Regions from separate parts of the Homo sapiens genome. Here region 1 is linked to region 2. The links are contacts of gene promoters, found by promoter capture Hi-C in blood cells and fetal thymus (Javierre and others, 2016). All regions are on one chromosome and are shown on one strand. Each heading gives the region's core, a stretch centred on a gene start or on the middle of the fragment in contact. The rest is flanking DNA. Distances are from core to core; before and after follow the strand shown.

Region 1 (5,321 bases), core at 1,874-4,373, 240 kb after region 2:
GACGGGGTTTCTCCATGTTGATCAGGCTGGTCTCAAACTGCCGACCTCGGTGATCCGCCTGCCTTGGCCTCCCAAAGTGCTGGGATTACAGGCATAAGCCACAACGCCTAGCTGGAAGAATTTTTATGTGAAATTTTGAGCTCAAGATTTCTGCATCAGATGCAGAAAATTTTCGGGTGTGTGTGTGTGCATGCATGTGCATGTGTGAGTGTGCAGTGCCTGCCTAAGGACATGAATAAATTAGTTCTTTATTTCCTTTGGCATTACGTAGGCACAGAATTAGTAGAATGGTGTTCACGGTTTTAAAATCTGTCTCATTTTTCTCAAAGCTCTTTCAGCTCAGTTTTTCAATTTTGTTTCAAAGTAGTAAAAATTGAGCTCCTACTTTCATTCCTTTATGTCGTAAAAAGCAGGATTTGTTGTTTTAAATGAAATCAACAGTTCAATACTTGAGTACTTTTTCATGCTTTCTCTGTTAGCTGTTTCTGTTTTCTCCTCTGGGATGAAAGGCAGTGAGGCTTGAAGAATAGACTTGTTGTCTATAATTTAGACTTGATTGGAATGCACTGTGAATTATCCTTATGAAAACATAATGATTCACTGCTTGTTGGGGAATTGGAAACTATTGATCTATGTTCTGCCTCAGGAGATACTGCTTCTCTTTGCAAAGGGTGCATTATAGGGTTTAGTTTGGGTTTGCATTCTCTGTCAACAGGCAGACTATTGCCTACTTTTAAATCTAGGATGCAAAGAAGTCTTCGTTAGCTCTGGCAGGTGAAGTTTTGATATAGAACTATATATATTCCCACATCTTTCCCTCAAATGTTAGCCCATTAGACCAAACTTTCCAGAAAATGACAGATTTATTTGTTCAAGACATGCACTGTCCAATAAGGACGTCACTAACCACATTTCACCTTGTTCACATGTCACCCTTGTGGTCACTTGGAATTGAGATGCACTGTAAGTGCAAAATACACACTGAATATAAAAAAGATGTAAAATATGTCCTTAATAATTGTTATACGGATTACATGTTGATTTTATATATATATATATATATATATTTTTTTTTTTTTTTTTTTTTTTTTTGAGATGGAGTCTTGCTCTGTCACCAAGGCTGGAGTATAGTGGTGCAATCTCAGCTCACTGCAACCTCCGCCTCCTGGGTTCCAGGAATTCTGCCTCAGCCTCCCGAGTAGCTGGGATTACAGGCATGCGCCACCACGCCCAGCAAATTTTTTTGTATTTTTAGTAGAGACAGGGTTTCACCATATTGGCCCGGCTGGTCTCAAACTCCTGACCTTGTGATCCACCTGCCTTAACCTTCCAAAGTGCTGGGATTACAGGTATGAGCCACTGCACCTGGCCTGATAATATTTTTAATATATGGCCAGGAACGGTGGCTTTTGGAGGCTGAGGCAGGTGGATCACCTGATGTCAGGAGTTCGAGACCAGCCTGAGCAACATGGTGAAACCCCATCTCTACTTCAAATACAAAAAAATTAGCCGGGCTTGGTGGCACATGCCTGTAATCCCAGCTACTTGGGAGGCTGAGGCAGGAGAATCGTTTGAACCTGGGAGGCGGAGGTTGCAGTGAACCGAGATCGCGCCATTGCACTCCAGCCTGGGCAACAAGAGTGAAACTCTGTCTCAAAAAAAAAAAATTTAGATATATATTAAGTTGAATTAACTATATTGTTTGTCTCACCTGTTTTTTTTCTTTTTTTGAGACAGAGTTTTGCTCTATCGCCCAGGCTGGAATGCAGTGGTGCGATCTCAGCTCACTGCAACCTCTGCCTCCAGGTTTAAGAGATTTGCTTGCCTCGGCTACCTGAGTAGCTGGGATTACAGGGATGCACTACCACGCCCAGCTAATTTTTGTATTTTTAGTAGAGACGGGGTTTTGCCATGTTGGCCTCTGCATGCTGGTCTTGAAATCCTGGCCTCAAGTGATCTGCCTGCTTCAGCCTCCCAAAGTGCTGGGATTACAGGTGTGAGGCACTGCACCTGGCCAATTTCACCTGTTTCTTTTTCCTTTAAAAAATAATGTGGCTTTAACTGGCAGCTCTGGTGTAATTAAAACAACAACAACAACAACAACAAAAACAGCAGCTACAAGAAAATTTAAAATTACTTATGTGGCCTATATTATGTTTCTGTTGGACAGTGCTGCTATAGAGTGTCCTACAAACAAGGAAACCCATAAATTCTCTAATAAGAACTTCTTTCTGTCTGTCATTCTTTTCCTGTACTCCCACTCACCATTTTTTTTTTTTTTACAATGTCATGATTTTTGGTATAAGTTAATGCTCTACTACTGCAATCCAGGCAAATGTACAGGGGATAGTATCTCACCTGAGTGAAGTCCAAAGGTCAGCATATAGATGAACATTGAATATAATAAAAATTGCCTTTGGAAATCTTTTAGGAAGGCCTCAAGCTGTCCCAATCTTTTAACTCTCACCCAGTTTTTCCCCTAGCATTAGGACAGATCATTGTTTTTTCAGGTACTATTAATAGTTGGAGAAGTACTTGTTTGTGTTTGGTACAGTATTATAGCAAAATACAAATCTAAGTTCAGAATCCCCCTCAGCCTGGAGAGATGCCCGACTATGAGAAGCAGAAGGTTCCTGTGGGTGCCTGAGGTTTACACTTCTTGTTCACTTGGGGTGTACATTCACTGAGTGCCAGAGAGGAGGGCCTTGCCTGCTCTGTTTATTTCTCTCTCTTACCTCCAATCAATTTTTCTCTATTTCCCTAATTTTGTGTTTGGTAAGTTCCTGTAGTTGTATTTACATACCTTAGTATGTAAAGATCTCTCTCTTCCCCAGATTCTGTAGATATATGATTTGAAAGGTATAACTAAAGGCCAAAAATGAAATTGCAAAGCTAATGTGAATGTACTTAATGCCACTGAACTGTACACTTAAACATGGTTAAAATGGTAAAGTTATGTTATATACATACTGCTGGGCATGGTGGTTCATGCCTATAATCCCAGCACTTTGGGAGGCTAAGTCAGGTGGATGGCTTGAGCCCAGGAGTTTGAGACCAACCTGGGCAACATGGCAAAACCTCGTCTTTACAAAAAATATATATATATAAAAAATTAGCTGGGTGTAGTGGTGTGCACCTGTAGTCCCAGCTACTCAGGAGGCTGAGATGGTAGGATGGCTTGAGCCTGAGAGGTCAAGGCTGCAGTGAGCCGTGATTGTGCCCCTGCACTCCAGCCCACACAACAGAGTGAGATCCTGTCTCAAAACAAACAACCAAACCCAAAAGTTATGTTGTATATTTTTTACCACAATTTTTAAAAGCCATAATGAAGCATACTTACATCTTGTGGGGAGAGAATGTGGGACTCTGACATGAGACAGAATTGGTGACTGGAAATGTCACAGATTGAGTTCACTCTTTCCAGACTGTGGATGGGGTCATCCCTGCAGCCCTTCTTCTAGCATGTCTCCTTCAGCTTCCTATTCATTCTGGGGGCTGCTCAATATCCCTCTGACTAAGGCCCCCTTTTTGGGCTGAACTTAGCCAGTTCTTTTTGTTTGCAACCAAAATAGCCCTAACTGATGCGCTAGGGTTCAGATCCTGGCTCTACCACATTTAAGCGTTTGCTCTTGTGTACATCTTTCTGAATCTTGGTTTTCTCATCTGCAAATTTGTCATCATAATATCTTCCTTACAGGGTAGAGCCAGGGTAAAAGATAGTATACGTGCCTAGAATTGTAACTCATAGTCCAATGGGGTTAGAAAACTAACAAGGGCAGTCTCTGGTCCCCTAGTTTACACTGGTGAGTTATTCCACCAGAATGTCAAATGCCTTATGTGGGAAATATGGGAATAATGAGGATTTCGTGTTTGTCAAATTTCTATTTGCTGCTGCACTTCAACACTGTCTCCTCTATACCGATCTTCCCTCAGGGGTTGAGGGGTAACACCATTCATGACACTACAGCATGAAATAATGGGATGAGGGAAGGAGACAAGAATCTATCTCTCTGAAAATGTCTGATCAATGAATAATCAGATGGAAAATGTAAAAAATAAAATTTGTCCAACGGGGTTTATAGTGAAGTCTTTTAAAATAGCTGACGTTGGCCAGGTGTGGTGGCTCACGCCTGTCATCCCAGCACTTTGGGAGGCCGAGATGGGTGGATCATGAAGTCAAGGGTTCGAGAGTAACCTGGCCTGCATGATGAAACCCTGTCTCTACTAAAAATACAAAAATTAGCTGGGCGTAGAGGCACACTCCTGTAATCCTAGCTACTCAGGAAGCTGAGGCAGGAGGATTGGTTGCAGTGAGCTGAGATCATGCCACTGTAACTCCAGCCTGGGGGGACAGAGCGAGACTCCATCTCAGAAAAAAAAAATTAATTAATTAATTAAATTAAATTAAATAGCTGACACTGGAGAGAATGGCTAATAACTGCTTTAGGATTTAGTTCTATTAAATAATTTTTGTTTTTTTTTTTTTTGAGACAGAGACTTACTCTGCTGCCCAGGCCCAGGCTGGAGTGCAATGGCACGATCTCAGCTCACTGCAACCTCCGTCTCCCGGGTTCAAGCGATTCTTTGTGCCTCAGCCTCCCAAGTGGCTGGGATTACAGGCATGTGCCACCACATTTGGCTAATTCTTGTATTTTTGGTAGAGACAGGGTTTCACCATGTTGGCCAAGCTGGTCTCGAACCCCTGACCTCAAGTGATCTGTCCACCTCAGCCTCCCAAAGTGCTGGGATTACAGGCGTGAGCCACTGCGCCTGGCCTTAAATTTGTTTTGATGATTACTTCAGTCCATGTTACATTGTTGTGTATATGATAACGCATGGAATTGTAATGGGATTCTACTGCACTTTACCACACAAAGCAGGATGGGGATAAAAATGAAAAGACTCAGTAACAAAGCTCTCCAGATGTTGTAGCTTTTATACACTCTTCCTTTGCCCCCCAAATCAACCCTTACTGCCAATATCAGAATACTTAAAAGTGTTTTCATTGAATTATTTATGTCTTTGTCTTCCTTAGGCTACAAGTGCAAAAAGCTGAATGAAAAATGGAAAGGTTACTGCTGAAATATTTACAGATGGAAGGATATGATGTCTAGAATTTGTTTCAAACAGTAAGTATGTGGGTGGGGCAAGTAGCTGGTGATGTAGATGGAATAAGACTGGTCACAGGTTAATGTTTTAAGGTGCTAGGTACTAGTAGATGGGGTTCATTATTTTATTCTGTCTATTTTGCATATGTTTAAAATTTGTCACAATACTTTTTAAAATTGGATAATTACACTACTTAAAATATGCATGTGTGA
Region 2 (5,747 bases), core at 749-3,248:
TGGTCTCGAACTTCTGACCTCGACATTGGCCAGGCTGGTCTCGAACTTCTGACCTCGTGATCCACCTGCCTCTGCCTCCCAAAGTGCTGGGATTACAGGCGTGAGCCACCGCGCCCAGCCAAAATTCCATTTGTAAGTAGGCTGTTTCGAACTCAGAATACACTGGTTCATGGAAACAATGTTTACAACTCAGGTTGTAAGCATAGGCGTAAAAGAAGAAACTGAAAGTTCCTGAAGGATGGTTCACTCAAGCAGTATAGGCCCGACTGAAAAAAAAAAAGTGAGGTCCTGCACAATATTGGTTCAACTACACTATATTAGACCATAACATACGCTCACTAAGGGCAGGGACCATGCCACATTTTGCCCATGATGTCTCCTCAAAACTTATCACAGTAACTGGCACATAGTAGGTGCCCAACAATTTGATAACAACTGATGAACTACCCCTAAATCACCAGATATACCATATATTATTTAGCAAAATACATTATAAATGTTAACTCTGGACACCAGAAACACATTTCCTCTTCTCCTCATTCAAGCAGACATATGGGGGACTCCCTCACGTCTGCCCAGCTCCTGTGGTAGTCCCATTCATGCAGGGAGGCCTTTTTACAAGTTGAGGATCATGAGGAGTACTGCCCTCACCTCTTAGGAGAATGGGAGGAAACAGTTTACACAGACTTAGATCAAATACAAAAAAGCACTTTCAGCCCGTGAAATCTGCTGTTGACAGTGATGACAGCTGGCAGTCTTGCCTTCTCTGAAGACACCTCTGGAGCTGGCTCTTTCTCCCAAGTGATGCATTTGTGTCGACTCCCAAATGCACCTCATTAACAGTTACAAAGTCGTGGGAGATCAATTTAGTACTCAGGTTGGAGTAAAGGAGGGAACTGAAAGTTCCTGAAGGATAGTTCACTCAAGCAGTATAGGCCTGATTAAAAAAAAAAAAGGCCAGGCACGCCTTTAATCCCAGCACTTTGGGAGGCTGAGGCGGGCAGATCACCCGAGGTCAGGAGTTCGAGACCAGTCTGACCAACATGGTGAAACCCCATCTCTACTAAAAATACAAAAATTAGCCAGATGTGGTGGCGTGCGCCTGTGGTTCTAGTACTTGGGAGGCTGAAATAGGAGAATTGCTTGAACCCAGGAGGCAGAGGTTGCAGTGAGCCGAGATCGCGCCACTGCTCTTCAGCCTGGGCGACAGAGCGAGACTCCGTCTTGGGTGGGGGGGAATCCCTGCCCACCACAGTCTACCAATTTTGTGAGCACAACACTATGTATTCCTCACTTGGGTGGATTCTGAGCCCCCAAGTCTCCCACCCCCACCCCCTTCCCACGTGTACTGTTCAAACAACTAGGGCTCTTCTTTCTCAGGAACAGTCTGAGAAATAGGCCCTAGCCACCTATTTGGCCTTGAATACCAAGTGTCCATCAGCTAGACGTTTGTAATTCTTCCCTGAAGGTGATAATTAGCTCATTCATAAAGAACTGATTCTCAGCAGTCTCGCTCTCAAAGCAGGATTCTACCTGAATTTCTAGTGCCTCACCTGCTCTTTGGCTTTCCCGTCAGCCTCCGGGAGTCCCTCCCCAGTTCTCAGATATAATTTCATCTCTAAAAGTCCAGACTGAAAATCACATCTGGGAGATGTATTTTTACCTTAAAAATCAGTCAAGAAAATGTGGGATCTGGAAGTCTCTCTTGGAAAGAGGGGGCAGAGGGGAGCTGAGCAGAGGGCGAAATCGTGCAGTTTACGCGGAGCTGGGGACCCCGAGCCTCAGAGCGAGGGGAGGCCGGGAGCAGCGCCCCGGAACTGGCGCCTCACAGACAGCGCGGGGCGGCCGCCACGGTGGCGGGAAGGCCAAGCGCTGGCCCTGGGTTGTTCTTCACCCATAACCCCTTCACCTGTAACCCCAACAAGCAGCGAAAGGCAGTCCCGGGCCCTCGGCCTCCCCACTCACCCCGTGCCCATCGCCGGACACAGTCCGTCGGCATAAACTTTCCGTCGGCATAAACTTTCCGTCCGCGCGCCACAGCCGGAACTATAAGGCCGCGCGACAGAAGGGAATCCGGCGCCTGCACTCCGCGCTGGGCGGGGCGGTCCTTGGAGAGCTTCAGGGTCGCCCGGGCAGGGTTCTGGCTCATCCCGGAGGGACGCTAGGGGGCGCGGCCTCTCTTCGCGATGGCCAATCCGCGGCCACCCCTCTCCTCCCACAAATCCCCAACTTCTCTCGAGCCTTGGCTGGGTTTCCTGCCGTGTCTCTCTGCATTGCCCTGAATCTCTCCCCATTCTCGGGCTCTTTCCTTCCCCTTCTGCCCCACTGACCCATGGGCCTCACCTGGCCCGGTGACTCTGTGTCCGCTTCACACTTTTGTCCCCTCACTCCCCTGGGCCCCGTCGGTGCACGAGCCCAACCCTTCCTGCTATTTTCCTCGTCACTCTTTAGCCCCCTCTCTCGTATCCTCTGAACCGGTTGACAGAATCCTCTTCCTGTTCTTTTTAAACTGCAATTCCTGAACTACAAATCCTGGCCGGGCGTGGTGGTTCAGGCCTGTAATCCCAGCACTTTGGGAGGCCAAGGTGGGCGGATCGCTTCAGGTCAGGAGTTTGAGACCAGCCTGGGAAACATGGTGAAACCCCGCTCTCTACTAAAATACAAAAATTAGCCGGGCATGGTAACGAGTGCCTGTAATCCCAGCTACTTGGGAGGCTAACGCACGAGAATCTTGGGGGGAAAAACCCCAAAACTGTAATTCCTGGCTGAGGTATGCTTTGTATATCCTTCTTAGCTGACCTGAGCCCAATTTACCTCAAGACTTGGCCTCTTGGTCTCCTCAGCCCAAATGCTCACTTTATTTCCCCTATCCCCTCTTTGAGGGAAGCAGAGGGCCCTCGTTCCTCTCACCCTGGACAAGGCATGCGTGCTCAGATTTCCCTGTAAGGCAACATGGGCTCTTGCCTGCCACTCTGGCCACCTGGTGTCTCCATTGTAGTCTGTGCCTCAGTGAGGTCCTTAAGAGGGCAAGAGGTGACTTTCTTTCTAACCATGTAGGGAGCCAGGGAATCCCAGCTAGAGATAGGCTTAGATGGATGCCAGCAGGCCCCTGGGTAGTTACGGTTCAAAGAACAATGTGGAACCACATAGGTTACAAAGTGAGTACAGAAAGGCCTCTAGAAGGCCTCAGGCATTTGCCTTTTTCTTTTAGCTGATAGGATGGGGCGAGATTAGGAGATGGGACGAGGAAGGAGGATGCTTTGAACTGAACAGACAAATCTGTCTGACTTCTCACAGCTTGTTATGTGGGAGATTGTGGGGCCAGTTGCTTGTAGTTTTTTCCTGTCCCTGGGAATATCCCTGCCAGCACTGGGGCCAGGGCCCTGCAGACTGCCCTATTTGCTTCAAAACTTCTTTCCCCAACCTGGCTGATCTCACCATGTCAAGACCTAGTTATGCTTGAGCAGGCATTGGGCTCCAGGTAAGTAAGGCTGCAGCCTGATAACTTAGTCATGATTTCTAATCTTGCCCTATTGGGAGGGATGTGGCCAAGAATGTGTGGGTAAGCAAGTGTCTAGTTACCCCTAATGTGACAACGACTTAGCCATAGGGTTACTGTCCTCGTGGTAATTCTGGCTCAGTTGCAGGGTCTGATTCATTACCTTACCCAACCCTAAAGCTTAAGTTAGTTCACTGATGGATGATCAAATCTTGTGACCTAGTTCTTCTGAATAACAGGCTTTGGGAGACTTGGAAAGCAAAAAATCAATATATTAAATTGATGATAAAAGGCACAGCTACCAGGAGGACTGTGTTACTTAGGGCAACTAGTTTGTTTGTTTGTTTTTCCTCCTTAGTGGAATCCCATTACAAATCAGAAGGTTGTTCAGTGACTATAACATCAGAGAACATCAGCACAAAGGTTAGAAGGTTTTAAAGGGGGTGTCTTTCAAGCCATCACTGGCTGATGAATTTCTTTTCCCCACTCAAACGACCCTCAGCATTTGCGTGTTTCCACACACACATTAAAGGAAATCAATAAATAGTTTCCTTTGCATAATCTCTCATTCCCTTTATTTTTTCCTGCCTTGAAACAGTGGACTGCTGTCCCAAAGGCTTTGAAAGGCAGTGTTTGATCCCCAGTCTGACAGAGGAAAGGTTTATGACAGAAAAACCATGGCTCTCACAGGGGCTAGGTACTGGGGAGCTCAAAGGGAAGTCTAGATATCTCAATCTCCCAGAGCACGTGTTGAAAATGCAGATTCCCAGACCTTGCCAAGTGAAATGGAAATGAAATTTCATGACTTCGTGCTTGAGAATCTTTGCTGTTAAGTTCCCAGGGTGATTTTGTGTGTGTGTGTGTGTGTGTGTGGTGACAGGGTCTTTGTCACCCAGGCTGGAGTGCAGTGGCATGGTCATGGCTTCTTGCAGCCTTGACTTCCTGAATTTAAGCAATCCCCCCCAACCTCAACCTCCCACGTAGCTGGGACTACAGGCATGTGCCACCATGCCTGGCTAATTTTTAAATTTTTTGTAGAGATGGGGGTCTCACTATGTTGCCCAGAGTGGTCTTGAACTCCTGATTTCAAGCGATCCTCCCTCCTTGGCCTCCCAAAGTGCCAGGATTACAGGCATGAGCCACTACATTTGGCCCCAAGATGATTTTTCATCTACAGAGATAAGGGATAGGGAATGAGTAAGTGAAGAAAAGGCTGAGGGGTGGGGGAAGAGCAGTGGGCCTACTTCTCTTTTGCATTCTTCCCGCTCTTCTCATACTCCCATGATGTCCTTTGCCCTGCATTTCCCTTTCTGCCCCTGTAGTCTGGAGACTGTTCACTCCCAAATCATACTTCCAAGCTCCAGCCCCTTCCTCTCATCATTACCTCCTCCCTATTTCACTATTTTCACCAAAGCAGAAGTCAATCATAAATATGACCCTTCTGTCTTCTGAAAAAAAATTTTATTATGGAAATTTTCAAACATAGACAAAGATAGGGAGATTAGGATAATAAATCCCTGTGTGCCCTTCACCCAGTTTCTGCTGTCAATGCAATCCTCATCTCGTTTCATGTACACCCCTACCGACTTCTCCCCACATATTATTTTGATGGAGATCCCTGATAGCATAACATTTTATCCAGGAATATTTCCTTATGTATCTTTAAAAGAGAACTTAAAAATATATAATTACAATACCATTATCAAATTTAACATAATTAACAATAAATCCCTAATATCATCAAATATCGAATCAGCTTTCAAATATTCAGTTGTGTCATAAATATCATAAATTTTACTTTTTTACACTTTGGTTATTTGAATCAGGATCCAAGTAAGATCCAGATATTGAAATCCGTTGCTATATCTCAGAAGTCTCTTTTAATCCACAGGTTTCCCCCTCTTTTCCTTCGAAATGTATTTGGAAAACTGTGCTCCCCCTCCTTTTAAAATTGCTCTCAATCCTCTTTCAGTTTTTTCCAGAGCATTTGAGAAAACCGCAAAGCTGCTCTCTATTTTAAATAATGAAAAGACTCACTGAACAAAGAAAAGCTTTACACATTTCCAATTCCAACTAACTTTGCCTCTGCTCTGAAAATAGGGTGAGCTTTATCCATCACTGGATCCCCCAGGGTCTGGCATGTGATGGTGGATATGCATTTGTGGAAAGAAGATAGGAGGGGAGTAAGAGAGGTTATTGGAAAAAAAAGTCAAAGAGGAAAGCAGAGAAAACTTGGTAGATACTACAT

Evidence for each region. The method cuts DNA at HindIII sites, captures the fragments that hold promoters and counts their contacts. A CHiCAGO score of 5 or more calls a contact.
Region 1: a contact is called between a fragment that was not itself captured here and the fragment with the promoter of INTS14 in region 2, in 7 of 17 cell types (M2 macrophages, activated CD4 T cells, naive CD8 T cells and 4 more). The highest score is 8.3, in M2 macrophages.

Annotation. Positions count from the first base shown.
Region 1 is chr15:65,845,829-65,851,149 of GRCh38, forward strand. It overlaps LOC105370866 (a long non-coding RNA gene), which reads left to right. Exons shown (of 3, transcript XR_932372.2): 2 at 5,036-5,129. Among named protein-coding and RNA genes, the nearest start is that of TRQ-CTG1-4, 21 kb to the right of the region's middle. The HindIII fragment of the contact is 9,163 bases long and covers 1-5,321 here.
Region 2 is chr15:65,609,133-65,614,879 of GRCh38, forward strand. It overlaps INTS14 (integrator complex subunit 14), which reads right to left and starts at 1,999. Exons shown (of 12, transcript NM_001394796.1): 1 at 1,966-1,999. It also overlaps a transcript of SLC24A1 not described here. RefSeq lists an enhancer at 1,917-2,076. The HindIII fragment of the contact is 5,572 bases long and covers 1-3,677 here.